3 separate regions of the Homo sapiens genome follow, and all the other regions are linked to region 1. The links are contacts of gene promoters, found by promoter capture Hi-C in blood cells and fetal thymus (Javierre and others, 2016). All regions are on one chromosome and are shown on one strand. The core of a region is centred on a gene start or on the middle of the fragment in contact, and the rest is flanking DNA. Distances in the headings are between cores, read along the strand shown. Region 1 holds the start of NEUROD4 (neuronal differentiation 4). Region 2 has its middle 77 kb from the start of MUCL1. Region 3 has its middle 16 kb from the start of MUCL1.

Evidence for each region. The method cuts DNA at HindIII sites, captures the fragments that hold promoters and counts their contacts. A CHiCAGO score of 5 or more calls a contact.
Region 2: a contact is called between a fragment that was not itself captured here and the fragment with the promoter of NEUROD4 in region 1, in 2 of 17 cell types (activated CD4 T cells and naive CD4 T cells). The highest score is 8.1, in activated CD4 T cells.
Region 3: a contact is called between a fragment that was not itself captured here and the fragment with the promoter of NEUROD4 in region 1, in 1 of 17 cell types (non-activated CD4 T cells). The highest score is 5.1, in non-activated CD4 T cells.

What each region holds. Positions count from the first base shown.
Region 1 is chr12:55,018,285-55,021,566 of GRCh38, forward strand. It overlaps NEUROD4 (neuronal differentiation 4), which reads left to right and starts at 1,690. Exons shown (of 2, transcript NM_021191.3): 1 at 1,690-2,029. The HindIII fragment of the contact is 8,784 bases long and covers 935-3,282 here.
Region 2 is chr12:54,776,215-54,779,496 of GRCh38, forward strand. No RefSeq gene overlaps it. Among named protein-coding and RNA genes, the nearest start is that of MUCL1, 77 kb to the right of the region's middle. The HindIII fragment of the contact is 157 bases long and covers 1,720-1,876 here.
Region 3 is chr12:54,868,552-54,871,833 of GRCh38, forward strand. No RefSeq gene overlaps it. Among named protein-coding and RNA genes, the nearest start is that of MUCL1, 16 kb to the left of the region's middle. The HindIII fragment of the contact is 993 bases long and covers 1,262-2,254 here.

The sequences.
Region 1 (3,282 bases), core at 440-2,939:
AGCGCTCATTGAACAATGATTAAGCACCTCTATCCTAGACATAAATTACCTCATAGATAAATTTCCTGTGGCCGAGGAGTGAATTCTGATTTGTTTTTTAGAGATCTGCTATTCCCATCATGTGTTGTTTAATTATTCTGAAAATGAAGTTTATTTTCCTGAGCAGATATTTTTCTGGATAGGGATACAAATAAAGATAAGTAAGAGATTAAAGAGCTGCTGAAAATAAATAACTTCCCATGAAAACTGAAAAAAGTGTTAATTTTTATTTTCTTGTTTTCTGTGAAAAACAAGAGTCATATGACACATATCAGAATTAAAAATAACTATTTTCAAACTTAAGATACTCTTTTCAACTTTATGAGCAGTGAAACTATCTTTTGTTTCAGCCCTCTACAGTTTTCCTTGCACACAGGCATATTAATAGTTTTTCATTTCTGTTTGACGCATGTGCTAGTTATGTTGTTAGACCACGCGATTCTCAAAAAGCTGGGGATACTCTGGTTTCTTTTCAGATTGTATAAATGTTTTGCCTTTTGCCAAAACGCCTGAGGAATTATCCTTCAAGTCAATTTCTAAAAGAAGTTGAACTTGGATTCGTAACTCTATCAGGCTACTGATGGAAAAACTCATTTTACAGATATGAAAACTGATGCCCAGAGTGAAGTTGACTTATTCAAGATCATTCAGCCAATTGCTTAATCTGAGCACCTTTCTTTTTCCTTCTTGGAAACACAAGATGATTAGAAAATCTTTGGTATCTTAAGTTCACAATCATTTATTTTTCCTTGGTGTAGTTTTAAATAAGATAGTATGAATATCTATATACTTAAATTATTCCAGATGTAGTTTTCTTTCTGTCTTCTAGCAATTTAATTCAACCTCCTAATACCAAAGGAGTTTTAGGAATTATTATGAGCCTTCTCTTCTTCTAAGCTTATTACTACTCAGGTGGACTTTTTCTACGTGAATGCTTAATGATGTATTTTTGAAAAACAATAGTAGATCTCAGTTTGTAACTCAAGGAACTAACTGCCCTTAAAATGAAGGATTTTATTAATTTCCTTTTTGTTTTTATAAATTTAAAGTGATCAGAAAGTTGAAAGAATAGCACAACAAATATAGCTTCACCTAAATTCACAAATTAAAAGTTTTAATGAGAGTAGCTTTGACGTGCTGAAAAGGTGGGAGAGACATACTTCTTCCTTCTACTTTTAGAACGCTGAAGTTTATAAGCCAAAGACCCCAGTCCACATGTGTAAGGAAGCAGCCACTGATGCTGTGTCCTTGACACGCATCTTTCTCACCTTTTGATTCTTTTCAGACGTGGGTCAGCAGCGTCATCTGCCCTTTTTAGCTCTCTCTCCAAGTCTATCCCCAATTTTCTTTCTCCATTCTGTCCACACTACTCCGCTCCCATTTCTTATCTTTTTAATCACAAAGGTTTCCAGTCCTCTTTTTCTTTACTCCTTAACTTCAGCAACTCTCCTCCCCTGCTCCCCTTCCACCAACCCCCATCTCTATTTAAACAAACAAACGGGCGGCAAAACTGGACCTGGCCGGAGGAGCCTTTCAAGTGGGCGTGTCTTTCGGCTGGGGAAAAGGGAGGAGTTAGACTCTGGGCAACATCACTCCTCCCTGGTCAGCTGGGAGAGCAATCAAAACTGCAGCAAGTCAGAGGCTCCGGCCAGAGAGCAGGAGCTGCCCAGAGGCTTGTGGTCCTGAAAGCTCCTCTCCGGGGAGCTAACCAGGGAGAGGAGGTACTGAAGAGCGACTAAACTGGCTGCAGCGGAGAGATCAGCCCGAAGGCGTCCTTGAGGAGCATACGGAACTCCAAGGAAGGAGTAGAATAAGGAGCAGGCAGAGAAACCAGACCCGGTGGAATCTCTAAGAGGTAACAACCGGGTTTGACATGGATCGCTGAAAGCGTCTCTTCTACCATCTGGATGGTCAGGGAGACTTGGCTTCTCTGACTGTCCTCTAAGACGCAGATTCACAGAGTTCACTCCAGGAACGGCCAGTGACCGAGGTGAGCCAGTGGTTGGGGTGGTAAGGGGGCTAAAGTTTCTGTGGGAAGTTCCCACTCACCTAGAGGAGCAGTTGGGGTGAGGAAAGTCTCTTCTGGGTAAGGCAGGAGGAAGTGAGATTTAGGAAACTTGGAATGTAGAAGCTAGTGAGTTGGAACACTTAGGGACAAATATAAACATTTTAAATAATTTTATTAAATTTTATAGCACTTGCCACCCAAAGTGAAACACATAGACACTCACAATCATTTTAATAAAGTGAAGAATACAGATGATCTCCCCCAATTCCTGTCAAAGCCACTCTTTCATTTTGTTAGTGGTGAAAATGTCGAAAAGTTTAACTGCTTTTCCAAGGTGGCCCAGCAAGTAGGTTGGAAGAATTGACCCAATCCACCACTCTGCTCACAGCATTTTAGGGCTATGCAAGGACGGAGGGGGAGGCAGGGAAAGGAAAACAGAATGAGGAATCAGAGAAGATTGTGGAAAATCCTCGGGGTAGATTCTCACCATTAACTATTTTGTTTACTAAAAATGCTTGAATAGTTGGCACAGGGTGGGGGAAATTTCCTTTTCCTCAGCTCTTTCAGATGGGAAATTAGAAGAAAAAGATTGTCCAAGTATATTTTTCCTTTCTCTGCTTCACACTCATCATTTGCCCGCAAAAAAAGTATACTCAGAAAATACTAATTAAATGTAAAATACCCACCCCCATTTTTTTGACAGAGGAAGCAGAGGTGAAATGCTGAAGAACATGCAGGGAAAAATAAGGGACTGAATAACTTCTGTTAACTATTAAGATCTGAGGCAATGGCACCTGAAGTATTACATGGCTTTGCTGGACAAAATGTGTGTGTATGTGCATGCATGTACATACATGTGCACATATATTAATAAAGGGGAAAATAGTAGAGTAGAAAAGAAGAGCATAGAGCAAACTACTGGCTTTTTCCAAGCAGTACAACTTGTGAACATCCTGATTTGGATTCTGTCTTTTTAGTGCCAAGACTGTGCAACTCTGGGAAAAGAATTTAGTCTATTTAGTTCTTAGATTTCCTAGAAACTGGGCTGGACAGCCCCCTTTCTGTTGTATTTAGTCATCGGATCAGGAGGTAAAGAGATTATCACCAGCTTTTAAGAGGAAAGACACCATCTAACTACCACAAATCCACATGTGAGTTCCCCTTACCTATTAATTAGTTGAAATATCTCCACAATAAATAAAAAATTTGTAAAAGTGTAGAAAGAATTCCAGGAT
Region 2 (3,282 bases), core at 548-3,047, 240 kb before region 1:
GGATTGCAGACCAATGAAAGCACCCAGACCAATAGTAGTGATACCCACAGTTAACAAAATGGTGTACAGCTGCACTTGACAGTGTTTTTTCTTTTTCTTTCTTTTTTTTTTTTTGTGGTAGAGGTGGTGAGAATTTAGACTCAAATAGGTCCTGGGAAGACTACACACCTTTGAATTGGCCTCCAGCATTTATGGGATAGAGGCAAGATTAAACATTTATAAGTATGAGGAAGATATATTTAGGAGTCTCACGTGTAATGAATATTTATATATGTGAAGGGGAGATATATCCCCCCTTTAAATGTAGGAAAGGGCAATGGGAAAGTTTTTAAAAAATTGGTGTGAGACGTGAGTCACTGAAACGTCCTTGATTTAAGGGAGATTAAGGCCTGGGGCAATATAGAGACACATTCCACGGTCCATTTTATGGGAAGAAATTTGAAAAAGGATTGTTTGAGGAGACTGTTATGTCTATCAATTAAACCAGCTGTCTGGTATCTATCAGGGACATGAAAATTCTACTGATGCCTTTATGAAAAAGAGCCTGGGGCAGTTCCAAGATGGCTAAATAGGAACAGCTCCAGTCTACAGCTCCCAGTGTGAGTGATGCAGAAGATGGGTGATTTCTGCATTTCCAGCTGAGGTACTGGGTTCATCTCACTGGAGCTTGTTGGACAATGGGTGCAGAACAGTGGGTGCAGCCCACCGACCATGAGCTGAAGCAGGCTGAGGCATTGCCTCACCCAGGAAGCACAAGGGGTCAGGGAATTCCCTTTCCTAGCCAAGGGAAGCTGTGACAGACCGCACCTGGAAAATTGGGTCACTCCCACCCTAATACTGCACTTTTCCAGTGGTCTTAGCAAAGGGCATACCAGGAGATTATATCCTGCACCTGGATCAGAGGGTCCCATGCCCACAGAACCTCACTCATTGTTCACAGAGCAGTCTGAGATCGAACTGCAAGTCTGCAGCAAGGCTGGGGGAGGGGTGCTCTTTATTGCTGAGGCTTGAGTAGGAAAACAAAGTGGCTGGGTAGCTCTAACTGGGTGGAGCCCACCACAGCTCAAGGAGGCCTGCCTGCCTCTGTAGACTCCACCTCTGGGGGCAGGGCATAGCCCAACAAAAGGCAGCAGAAACCTCTGCAGGCTTAAATGTCCCTGTCTGAAAGCTTTGAAGAGAGTAGTGGTTCTCCCAGCATGGAATCTGAGAACTGAGAATGGACAGACTGCCTCCACAAGTGGGTCCTTGACCCCCAAGTAGCCTAACTGGGAGGCACCCCCCAGTAGGGGCAGGCTGACACCTCACACGGCCGGGTACCCCTCTGAGATGAAGATTCCAGAGGAACGATCAGGCAGCAACATTTGCTGTTCAGCAATATTCACTGTTCTGCAGCCTCCACTGCTGATAAACAGGCAAACAGGGTCTGGAGTGGACCTCCAGCAAACTCCAACAGACCTGCAGCTAAGGGTCCTGACTGTTAGAAGGAAAACTAACAAACAGGACATCCACACCAAAACCACATCTGTACATCACCATCATCAAAGACCAAAGGTAGATAAAACCACAAAGATGGGGAAAAAGCAGAGCAGAAAAGCTGAAAATTCTAAAAATCAGAGCGCCCCTCCCCTTCAAAAGGAGTGCAGCTCCTCACCAGCAACAGAACAAAGCTGGATGGAGAATGGCTTTGATGAATTGAGAGAAGAAGGCTTCAGATGATCAAGCTTCTCCGAGCTAAAGGAGGAAGATCGAAACCATTGCAAAGAAGACAAAAACCTTGAAAAAAGATTAGACGAATGGCTAACTAGAATAACCAGTGTAGAGAAGTCCTTAAAAGAAGCTGAAAGCCATGGCATAAGAACTACGTGATGAATGCACAAGCTTCAGTAGCCAATTCAACCAACTAGAAGAAAGGGTATCAGTGATTGGAGATCAAATGAATGAAATGAAGTGAGAAGAGAAGTTTAGAGAAAGAAGAGTAAAAAGAAATGAACAAAGCCTCCAAGAAATATGGGACTATGGGAAAAGACCAAATCTATGCCTGATTGGTGTACCTGCAAGTGACAGGGAGAATGAAATCAAGTTGGAAAACACTCTGCAGGATATTACGCAGGAGAACTTCCCCTACCTAGCAAGGCAGGCCAACATTCAAATTCAGGAAATACAGAGAACACCACAAAGATACTCCTCGAGAAGAGCAACTCCAAGACACATAATTGTCAGATTCACTGAAGTTGAAATCAAGGAAAAAATGTTAACAGCAGCCAGAGAGAAAGGTTGGGTTACCCACAAGGGGAAGCCCATCAGACTAACAGCGGATCTCTCGGCAGAAACTCTGCAAGCCAGAAGAGAGTGGGGGCCAAAATTCAACATTCTTAAAGAAAAGAATTTTCAACCCAGAATTTCATATCCAGCCAAACTAAGCTTCATAAGTGAAGGAGAAATAAAATCCTTTACAGACAAGCAAATGCTGAGGGATTTTGTCATCACCAGGCTTGCCTTACAAGAGCTCCTGAAGGAAGCACTAAGCATGGAAAGGAACAACCGTTACCAGCCACTGCAAAAACTTACCAAATTGTAAAGGCCATCGAAACTAGGAAGAAATTGCATTAACTAATGAGCAAAATAACCAGCTAACATCATAATGACAGGATCAAATTCACACATAATATTAACCTTAAATGCAAATGGGCTAAATGCTCCAATTAAAAGACACAGACTGGCAAATTGGATAAAGAGTCAAGACCCATCAGTGTGCTGTATTCAGGAGACCCATCTCATGTGCAGAGACACACAGAGGCTCAAAATAAAGGGATGGAGGAAGATCTACCAAGCAAATGGAAAACAAAAAAAGGCAGGGGTTGCAATCCTAGTCTCTGAAAAAATAGACTTTAAACCAGCAAAGATCAAAAGAGACAAAGAAGGCCATTACATAATGGTAAAGGGATCAATGCAACAAGAAGAGCTAACTATCCTAAATATATATGCACCCAATACAGGAGCACCCAGATTCACAAAGCAAGTCCTTAAAGACTTACAAAGAGACTTAGACTCCCACACAATAATAATGGGAGACTTTAACACCCCACTGTCAACATTAGACAGATCAACGAGACAGAAAGTTAACAAGGATGTCCAGGAATTGAACTCACCTCTGCACCAAGCAGACCTACTGGACATCTACAGAACTCTCCAACCCAAATCAACACAATATACATTCTTCTCAGCACCACACCACACTTATTCCAAAACTGACCACATAGTTGGAAGTAAAGCACTCCTCAG
Region 3 (3,282 bases), core at 508-3,007, 150 kb before region 1:
TGGAGGTGATGATAGGATGGTCCTCTAAAGAAGAAAAGAAGAAATTTATAGTTTTACAGTGTAACATATTTGGGAAACAGTGAGGGAAACATTAGGAGTATATGGTCTCTTCCCCAATGAATAGCCCCTTGCTGAAAAATAACTTGTATCAGTAGTTGTGGAGCAAGAGTAGGTTTACCTCAACCCAAACTTTGGTTCTTAAAATGTTTAATGTTATAGGCGTTTTACTCACATCAAGAAAATAATGACAAAAAAAAAAAGAAAATAATGACTACTTCCCTTCCTTACAAGGTATATTGAGATTGAGTACAATGGAATCTGTGCTACCCAGTATGCACAGTCATATGGAGAAATAAAGGACTTAACATCGGACTGACTGATGTGTAGACTTTATTTCTCTCAATCTAATCTGCTCTAGCTCTGTAGACAAGTGTCTGACCTATACTTTCCTTCCTATGCCATCAGGAAGGATTCAAATGCCCAGTTAAATTCAGTCCTCACAAAGGAAGTTTATTTGGATGGCTAACAATCCTTCTCCATTTAGACTCAATATAAGAAGGCTAAACTTGGATCTAAATTGTAAATCTGTCTTTGGCTTGAGGGTGGGCACAACACAAAGTATGTGGTTAGAGAGAATAATGAGACCAGTAACTGAAAGACATAATTAACATCAATCCACCCTCCTTCAATTAATTAAGTCTCCTTCAAATATGCTTGATTAAAAATTTTAAAATTCAATTTTGGGGTACTATTTGGACATATGGCTATTTACTAGGAGATTGTCATGCCCATTGATATCAGGAATGGCAAGGACTTCATGATAAAGTGTGGCAGGACAGCTCTACTGCTGAGGAAAAGGATAGAAACTGGGTTCCAGGCCCAGCTCACAGATTTGTTAACACTAGAGAAATACAGGTACTAGGAAGAAACTTTAGCTCTCATGTGCAATAGGATGGTTCAACCCGATAAGAATTGTTTGCAGAGAAACAACCATTTGAAGAACCAACAACTCAACCTGAGAGCTGAAGGCTAGAACACAGGTGTTTGGATTTGCGGTGAGCCCTACTTTTTGTCACCTGCTGGTCAGACTTCAACTTCGGTGGCTAGTCACTACCAAGCTGTGACTCCTTTAACTAAAATATTTGTGTGACAGCAGTCATATTAAACCTTTTTTTGAGGATATGACTTCTAGTGGAGAAATTACATGAGCTTGATATATCTTTTTTTCCACTGAGTTCTTTCTCCTCACCTGTCTTTAGTAAGCTTGTTATACTAATTAAGCCCTTTGACACCTTTCGCTTGCACCATTCACTAAGCATATAAGTATTCTCATATTTTTCCATTCTTAAAATAATTATTTTCTCTACATTTCACCTCATCTATCTACCAAATCATTTATTCTTTTTCCATTTGTAATAAACCTTTCACAGCGGTGAAGGAGTGTGGATGTGCTAAGTTGGCAATATTCAGTCAATAATTATAATAAGGATTGAAGAAGTCTTGGAAGTTTTATTATCTGGTGGGTGAAGTGAGAGTGAATGTCAGTTCATCTTCCTTAACAATTTCTGTCCCAATAACCTTAATGGAGTTGACTTGAATCAGAGAATTTGTAGTCTCACAGTTTGTGGAATACTGAAACACTGATATAGAAACTCCTGAAAGCAGCAGGATAAATATTTGAACAGAAGAGTGCTCATGTGAAGTTTGATCCAGCATGCCACTCAACATCAGGCTGCTCAGGAAATTAAGCAGTGCCTTACTGATATGAGCCAAAAAGTAACCAGTCATTTGCGTATGAAGGACAATAAAAAATAATCAAGTTATACTGTATGTATCCTACATTTTCAAAGTGTGGATTGCAACTTGGAGCCACTATTTCTTTTGTCCTCTTTCCCCCATCTCTGTTATGGACATGATAGTCTGTGGGAAAGATACATACACATACAAACATACATTCACACATCCTGAGATAGATGTGCTTGGTTTTTGGAATTTTATCCCAGTAAGAGAGGAAAACAGCAGATATTTTGTCTACACTTTGGCATTTTAAAGAGTGCTAAGGATTTTTCTAATTCTAAAGCTCTACCTTGTATATAAAGATAATTTTTTTTCCCTGTAGACCAGGAGTCAGCAAACTTTAAATGAGCAGACAGACTTTATGGGGGCATATATTCTGTCGGAACTAGTCAACATCGCTATTGTAGTGCAGCTGTAGACAATAGGTAAACAGATGGGTGTGACTACGTTCCAATGAAGCTTCCTTTACAAACAGGTGGTGGCCCAATAGTCCTGTGACTCATCTTTTGATGATTCCCTTAGACTCAAGCTGAACAGTTTTCCATTTTAGAATACTTGACTATGTGCTAGTTTAGTATATCTTCCGTTTATCTCTAAGCCAGTCTTTCTAACCTTAGGCCAAACTCTTGAATTTATTTAATTACGTTAATGATGGTTAAGAAGATGATGACATCTACTAGTTATGGAGATCCAGAAATATTTTAGGTTCTTTTTATATGTATAGTCAATTATCAATATTTGCAGGAGTTATGTTCTAAAAAGTCTCCACAAACTCTGAATTTGTGCCTAATGAACCATTGTTCTTAGCATAGTAAAGGGTTATATTCCTGAAAGCCTCTGGCACATTTTTGTCAACTGATCAAAGCAAAACTTTATTAAAATAATGTGTGTTTCTGTTTTAAAGTTATTCTATTTAATATATATTCTGATTTATTAACATTGAACTCATGTCCAACAGCGTTATAATTCATGTCTCAATGATGTTTATCTAACCCACATATTTTTTCCCTATGGCACATCACAGTGTTTTTGTACTTTGGAACACTGGACAGCACTTCAGTACTATGCTTGCAAGACATTTTAAACAGTGAAATCATCAAGAAAATTAATAAAAATATGAAAACATGGCACTGAGTAGATCACTCACTAACAAAACTTTACAGTATGAGAACTGAAACAAGGAGGCAGAGCATTGCCTTGTTCATCCTCAGCTGGAAACATGCACATCGGTGACAAAGTTTTCACCAGCTCTGCATGTCCATAAAGGACCATGAAAGTACACTGAGTATTGACTTTGGGCTTAGAAATAAGCTTTAGCAAGTAGACAGATGTGCAGATATGCAACCTATGAATAATGAGGATTGACTCTAACTTTAATAGATTATTTAAAATATGATATTTTATTAATATTCCCATTTTACAATTGGGGAACTAGAAGGTTAATCCTTAAATAAATTTTACAAAGTTACACAGTTAGTAAATGGA